Regions from separate parts of the Homo sapiens genome. Here region 1 is linked to region 2. The links are contacts of gene promoters, found by promoter capture Hi-C in blood cells and fetal thymus (Javierre and others, 2016). All regions are on one chromosome and are shown on one strand. Each heading gives the region's core, a stretch centred on a gene start or on the middle of the fragment in contact. The rest is flanking DNA. Distances are from core to core; before and after follow the strand shown. Region 1 overlaps LOC105377778 (a long non-coding RNA gene). Region 2 holds the start of DLGAP2 (DLG associated protein 2).

Evidence for each region. Contacts are between HindIII fragments. The CHiCAGO score rates a contact against its expected background, and 5 or more counts as called.
Region 1: a contact is called between a fragment that was not itself captured here and the fragment with the promoter of DLGAP2 in region 2, in 1 of 17 cell types (neutrophils). The highest score is 6.3, in neutrophils.

What each region holds. Positions count from the first base shown.
Region 1 is chr8:1,746,796-1,750,275 of GRCh38, reverse strand. LOC105377778 (a long non-coding RNA gene) reads left to right here. Exons shown (of 4, transcript XR_007060784.1): 3 at 1,872-1,982. Among named protein-coding and RNA genes, the nearest start is that of CLN8, 15 kb to the left of the region's middle. The HindIII fragment of the contact is 3,097 bases long and covers 570-3,480 here.
Region 2 is chr8:736,168-739,820 of GRCh38, reverse strand. It overlaps DLGAP2 (DLG associated protein 2), which reads right to left and starts at 2,193. Exons shown (of 15, transcript NM_001346810.2): 1 at 1,996-2,193. The coding sequence starts at 2,013. LOC124902044 (a long non-coding RNA gene) reads left to right here and starts at 2,791. Exons shown (of 2, transcript XR_007061156.1): 1 at 2,791-2,964; 2 at 3,604-3,653. LOC401442 (a long non-coding RNA gene) reads right to left here and starts at 1,273. Exons shown (of 1, transcript NR_134292.1): 1 at 1-1,273. The HindIII fragment of the contact is 4,533 bases long and covers 1-3,653 here.

The sequences.
Region 1 (3,480 bases), core at 869-3,368, 1.0 Mb before region 2:
AGTGCAGTGGCGTGATCTCGGCTCACCGCAACCTCTGCCTCCCGGGTTCAAGCGATTGTACTGCCTCAGCCTCCCAAGTAGCTGGGATTACAGGCACGCGCCACCAAGCCTGGCTAATTTTGTATTTTTGTTTCTTTTAGTAGAGATGGGGTGTCTCCATGTTGGTCAGGGTGGTCTCGAACTCCTGACCTCAGGTGATCCGCCCACCTCCGCCTCCCAAAGTGCTGGGATTACAGGTGTGAGCTACCGTGCCCAGCCAAAAGTTTATGTTTTTAAGAGAAATGTGCTGAAGCACTGGGCTCGAGTGACAGTATGGTGGTTTATTCTGAAAGGGCTCAGCTGTGTGTGCAAGAGTGTATGTGAGTGTGTGTGTATGTCAGCATATGTGTGTGAGTATGTATGTGTCTGTGTGAACGTGTACGTGTGTGTATGTGTATGTGTGTGAGGATGGTGTGTATGTGTATGTGCTGAAGTAAATATGACTGAACAATAAGAATCGTCGATCTGGTTGTTTGGTACATGAGTATTCATCTTATTTCTTTTTCACTTTTTCTGTGCATTTGAAAGCTTTCATAGGAAGTCAGAAAATGTATCTGGTTGTTAAAACAATATTGTAACGTACACACACAGTCCATTTCCAGTCCCAGAATTGAGACAGTTAGTGCAGAGGCCACTGGCTCAGCTGTGGAAACCAGACTGCACGGTCCATCTGCACCCATGCTGTCTGTGAGCCCTGGGAATGTCGCTTCCTGTCTCTGGGCCTCAGTTTCCTTCTCTATAAAATGGGCTGATGCTGTTCCTGCCACAGAGGCTGGTGGGATTCAGGCCACATACCCCGGCACATCAGCGTTCCGTTGTTACACATTTGAATACTCCCAAGCCAGTTGGTAAACAGTTGACTCTCCGGGACCCCTTGCACGTTTCCACGACTCAGCAATCAACGTGGAGCTGAACTGGCTGTGAAGCGTTTTGAGCACTGCCCGTGTTTGTCTCACAGCCCTCACGGGAATCCCGGTTAATATACTCAATGAGCGGAGCCCTGAAAACCCCGCCTGCCACCTCGTAAGTGTTCTATAAGCGTTTGCCATTTTAGTAAGTCCTTGTATTTTTATCCAATCTTTGTTTTATGTTACAAAGATAGATGGAAGGTTAACGTTGAAGTAATTAACTTCTTAATGGAAGTGTAGAATTACAAAGTAATTGAAAAGAAGAATAGATGAGATCTGTGAGAGTTTCTTGTCTTTCTGCCTCATGCTAAAATGTAAGCTCTTGTTGTAAACGAAAGCCTGCGTGCAAATGGTTTGCAGGCTGATTAGCGAATCTGGGGCACGGAGCTATCCAGGAGCTCTCACTGTAGATTTAACATCCACGCATTTTATGTAGCTTCTTGATGCTGATGTTGGTAAGAGACGCTAAATTGTCATGGGCATTATGTGGAAAACCCGTAGATGATTTCTGGAGCACAAAAGCCTGACCTGGAATTGGGGCAGAGCTGGGGAAGGTAGGGGGAATGATTCATTTTTGCAGCAAGGGGGATGTGGGGGGCTCAGGCCAGGGCAGGGTGGGGCTGCTGGAAACAAGATAAAGAGAAGGACATAGATATAATGGCAAGGACTCCTTAGCTGTGGGCTAATCGGTGAGCTCAATTATGTCGGGCAAGTTTAAAGAATTTAAACATTAAACCATATGTTCCATACATAAAATAATTTTTGAGGGCCAGGGAACTTCCAGCCAGACACCGACCTCGGGTTGTTCATCACCATAGTGGCTGGTGGGGTACCATTCACGTGGGAGGTCGGAGGAGTGAGCAAGCGGGTTAGGCTGTGTCAGCCTTCCTGACAGGTGCTCAAGGACATCCGCTGTGTGCCTAGGTGCAGCTGTGTCACTGGGATGGACACAGGAAGCAATGTGGGGTCTTTGCTGCCAGTGAGCTCCCGGTCTAGGAGAAGAGAGAGGAAGCATCTTTATCTGTGTTATCCCAGGTACGCGTGCCAATTATATGTCTGTATCCTTATCTGTGTCTACATATACACCTACATCTACATCTACAGTCATATCAATATCTATACCCATACCCATATCTCTATATTTCTACATCTATACCCATATCACAGCTGTGTCTATATCTGTTAAGTCATTCTTGCATTGCTATAAAGAAATACCTGAGACTGGGTCATTTACAAAGAAAAGAGGTGGAATTGGCTAACGGTTCTGCAGGCTGCGCAAACATCGTACCAGCATCTGCTCCGCTTCTGGGGAGGCCTCTGGGAGCTTTTGCTCATGGCGGAAGGTGAAGCAGGAGCAGGTGTGTCACATGGACAGAGCTGAAGTCAGAGAGAGAGAGAGTGGGTTGGGGGAGCTGCCACACACTTAAACACCCAGACCTCCTGAGAACTCACTCACCATTGTGAGGACAGCACAAAGCCACGAGGGATCTTCACCCACGAACTAAACCCCTCCCGCCAGACCCCATCTCCAACACTGGAGATTACAACTCAACATGAGACTTGGGTGGGGACAAATATCTAAACTATATTACTATATCTATATCTATATACATCTATGTCCATAGCTACATCTATGTCCACATCTGTATCTGTAATCTGTGTGTTCAGATAGATACACATGTCTTTTTACAAAGAAAATAAAGCCAGGTTGCAGTGGCTCACACTGGTAATCCCAGCACTTTGGGAGGCTGAGGCAGGTGGATCACCTGAGGTCAGGAGTTCGAGTCCAGCCTGGCCAACATGGTGAAACCCTGTCTCTATTAAAAATACAAAAAAAAAAATAGCTGGGCATGGTGGCGGGTGCCTGTACTCCCAGCTACTCAGGAGGCTGAGGCAGGAGAATCGCTTGAACCCAGCAGGCAGAGGCTGCAGTGAGCTGAGATCATGCCACTCCACTCCAGCCTGGGCGACAGAGTGAGACTCCCTCTCAAAAATAAATAAATGAAAAGAAAATAAGCTCAGAGAAATCAGGTGGTGCCACCATCAATAAGCATCAGAACTGGAATGCAAACGTGGGCTTTGGTGCCTTCAAAGTCAGAACTGTGTTCACCCCTCTCGCTTTAGGGTCTGTATCAGTTTGTTAGGGCTGCCATAACAAAGTGCCACAAACAATAGGACGGTCTTCTCTCCCAAGCCAGAAGTCGGAGATCCCGGTGTCCGCAGGGTTGAGCTCCCCTGAAGGCTCCAGGGGAGGGTCTGTCCCAGCTGGGCCTGGATCTGGCCTCCGGTGGCCCCTCGGCTGGGTGGCCCCTGGGCTGAGTGGCTCCTCGGCTCGGTGGTGGAGCTCCAGTCCTCACGTGGTGTCCTTCCTCTGTGTGTGTCTCTCTGTGTCCCAGTTTCCCCTTTTTATAAGAACACTGACTGTATTCAATTAGGATCCTCCCTCATGACCTTATCTGAATTTGATTTAATTTCATTCCCTCTTTGGAAATAGACAAGACCCTATTTCCAAATAAAGTCACATTTCCAGGTA
Region 2 (3,653 bases), core at 944-3,443:
AGATGTAGGGGATAAAATATTCTAATGTGTTCTCTTCCAAGCAATGAAAAAGTCACACCATCCAGAAGGAAATGGTACGCACACTCTACAATTACTATTGGAGCCAAATCTGTGAGTCACCCAGCTGCCGGCACAAGACAATTTGGCTACTGGAAAATCCTGATTAATGACATTTTTTTAAACCCAGAGTAACAACTTGACCTGCCAAGAATTACCATTTTTTCATCATTTCGCCATTTTTGGCCTTGGTTATCTATTACCTTTCTCAGAGAAAAGGAAGTAAAATGAAAATGGTGTAAGGTGCGTTCACCTCAGGCCAAAATGCGCCTTCCAAGGTGCGCTGGGGCCGGGGTTTAGCGCAGCTTCGCGACCCGGGGGAAGGCTCCTTGGAGAGCCTCCTGGACTCCCTCGGGCTACGCCGAGGTACCGGGTTATTTCCCAACTGCAAGGACAATTAATTCACGGGCTGTTGATGAGATTCCTCCTGACAGGGCGGATTGTCGGGCTCCGCCAGGCTCTGGGACCGGGTCTCTGTCCGCCGCGCCCCAGGCCCGACCTCTCCGGGGGGTACCCCCCTTCGCGTCGCCGGAGCTGCCTCCAGCCTCGAGTCCGGGAAGACGGGAGAAGCGGCGGCGCTTTGGAGAATATTTACAGTTCCCAAACCCCCCACAGCCCGGGCTGGCCGAGTTCATCCACACGAAGGATAAATTCACTGCTGATCGCTTTATCTTTAATCGATAGAAGACCGGGGCCGCCGACAAGTCACGAATTTCCAATTCCAGGCCGTGGCCGGGATCGCCATTCACCGGCGGCGGCGGCGGCGGCGTCGCGCAGGGGCTGGAAGGACCCGGGCTCCAAGCGCGCAGGGCCGGGACCGGGGGCCGCGAGTTTCCGACGCGCATCGCAGACCCGCCGCGCACCCTCGCCCCCGCGTCCGCTCTCCACCTGCGAACCTACGCTGTCCGGGGGCTCCGCCTTCTCGCCGGCGCCCACCTCGCCCAGCTATCTCTCCTCCAGGCCCCTCCCCGGGTTCCCAGGTCCAGCCTGCTCCGAAGCCTCGGGCACCGCACACGCCGCGCGCTGAGGGAGGGCCGGGCGGGGAGAGGCGTCCAGTCCAGCCCAGCCCAGCCCAGCCCAGCCCAGCCCCACCTGGGCGCGCAGGCAGAGGAGCCCGCGTCCGCCGCCCCCCAGCCCTCCGCGCAGGGCTGTAATAATTACATCCTCATTATTTCTCCTGCAATCGTTAGCGAAGGAGCCGGAGACAGCAACAGCCGCTGCCGGGGGAGGCTTAGTTACAAAACCCTGCGCTGGGTAGCGCCTCGCTTAGCAACCACCCCTAAAAAAGACCCCGAGCTCCTCGCTCGCACTTGGAGAGCCGGGCGGCGGCCACCCCCTCGCTGCGCGCACCCTCCACTCCGCCTGGTCTCGGCAGCCGCTGCTGCCCGGCACAAGGGCCCCATCCTGGTCGCCCCCGCCCCCGCGAGCCCCCGTGCGCGCAGCCCAGCCCGGCACCCTTCATTCATTCCCAGTCCCCGTCGGCGTTTCCACCCGGGCTTGGGGGGAGGGGGATGCAGTCTGCTGCCCGCCGCCCCCACTCGCTCGCAGCTGCCCCACCGGAGCTAGGCGCGTAGCCCCTGGCGCGCCGGCACCCCCCAGGCTTTGCCCCCTCCACCCCGGGCAGGCAGAGCGGAGAATTTCACACCTCCGCGGCCCCGTGCGCTCCCGCACCCCCGGAGCCCAGGGTCCCGGCACCCCCGAGCGCGGCCAGGGATGCGCGGAGCCCGGCGAGGAGCGCAACGCGCGACCCCCGAGCACAGGCTGTCCCTGGGGTCCCCAGCGCTCCGGCCCCGGCGGGCGGCACGACCCCCGCTCGCCCCCGCCCCCAACCCTGACGCCCTCGGGGCGTCCCCGCGGGTCCGACACACCGCGCCCTCCCCGCCTCGACGGCTCTCGGAGCCCCGCGCCCGGCTCCCGGCAGCCCCCGGCGGCTCGCACCTTCCTCAGCGCGGACATCCTCGGACGCTCCGGGCTCAGCAGGTGCGGGGCGACATGGCGAAGCGGCCCCTCCTCAGACCGACGGCTCCCGGGGCTCGCGGGTTGGGGTCAGTACGTCCGTCCGCGGTCCGTCCGTCCGTTCGCCGCCGCAGGCGCCGCGCGCTCAGACCGCGCTCGAGCCCGGCGCACGGTCGGTCTTCACGGCCGGCGCCTGCGCACTCGGCGCCCAGGGAGGCACCGGCGCACTGGGGGGCGGCCGGCGCGCGGCTGCATCTGGGGAAGGGCCCGGCTTGGGGAGCGCGCGGGCAGCCCGGCTCCAACTGTTGCGCGGGGCGCGCGGGTCACCCGGGGACTGTGCCGGGCTCCCGGCGGGAAAGCAGCGGCCTCCACCGCGGCGCGCGCAGGCGACGCTCACCGCGCCCGAAAGTTAGCGGGGGACCCGGTCACACCCGTCGCCCCCGGGCAGGGTCAGCCTTTCTGGACCGCTGTTAGAGACGCGCCGGCGCGTTTGTGCGCGGGACTCGCGCTCGGGTTCGAGTCGGCTCGGCGCCCAGGGGGGCTCGCGGGGCAGAGGGGACGCGGGGCGAGGGAGGCGCGGGCGCTTGCGAGGGTCTCACTGCGAGGTGCGGCCGCCGCTTGGGTGCTGGAGGCAGAACCTCCCCCGGTTTCCACTGGCGGGCTACGCTGAGGAAGGTGTGCGGCGGCGGCTTCGCGGGGACCCACCGGGGGGCGCCCCGAGAACCTGGGTCCGGACGCAAGGAGCGCCCTCGGAGGGGGCCCGCCGCCTGGGTTTGCTGTGAGTGGCGTATGGACGACAGAGCCGAGGAAAAGGGAAAATCGATCCGGAGAAGTGGTGTTGACAACCACAGCAGCCGGGAAGATCAGCCACCCTGGCCACGTGTGGACGGACCCTCGCCAGGATCATGGGTTTTCCCTTCCGGGATCGGAACGCGGGAGCTAGACGCGCTGGTATGGGGATCCCTGGGCGGTCACCGACCCTGGGCAAGTCTCTCAGCCCCAGTTTAACATAAACGCAGAAATGGATTTCTGCTTTCCACCTGCATGGCTACGGCATTTAAATGAGGTAAAAGATGCGAAAACAAACCGCATAGAAAGACGGATGGGAGTTAGAATGAAATCAGGTCATCCAAAATATTTGGAATGGACAAACCAATCTTTTCCAGAAATTCCAAGATCTTTAAACAAAAAACAGGCTCTGTAAGAATTCCCCGTATAATTGATCACCAAAATATTCATCAGTTGCAGTTTATTTTCAAGGCAGAGTGCTAAACGACGAGGGGGTAGAAAGGTGAATGGGAGAAAGAAGTCCGGCCGCTGTCCATTTCTTCTAAATGTTTCCCGAATCTATCAGTGGTCTCCACTGTCAAAAAAAAAAAAAAAAAAGGTGCATTCAGCGCCCAAACCTCAACTAGGGAGAGATTCCAGGCCAATTTATTTTCATTTCACAATTTACTTTCCCTTTGCTTTCCTCCCCTGCATTTCGTCCCCATCCCTTCACGTTTTTTAAAAATATATATATATATTATTTCATGCAACCGCAACAAGAAAATCACACAAATGTACTGACGGCCTCTCCTGTGTTCTCAGCGTGTGAGCAGCACAGAAAACCACGGTTGCCGCCCCATGAAGCCTTCAGT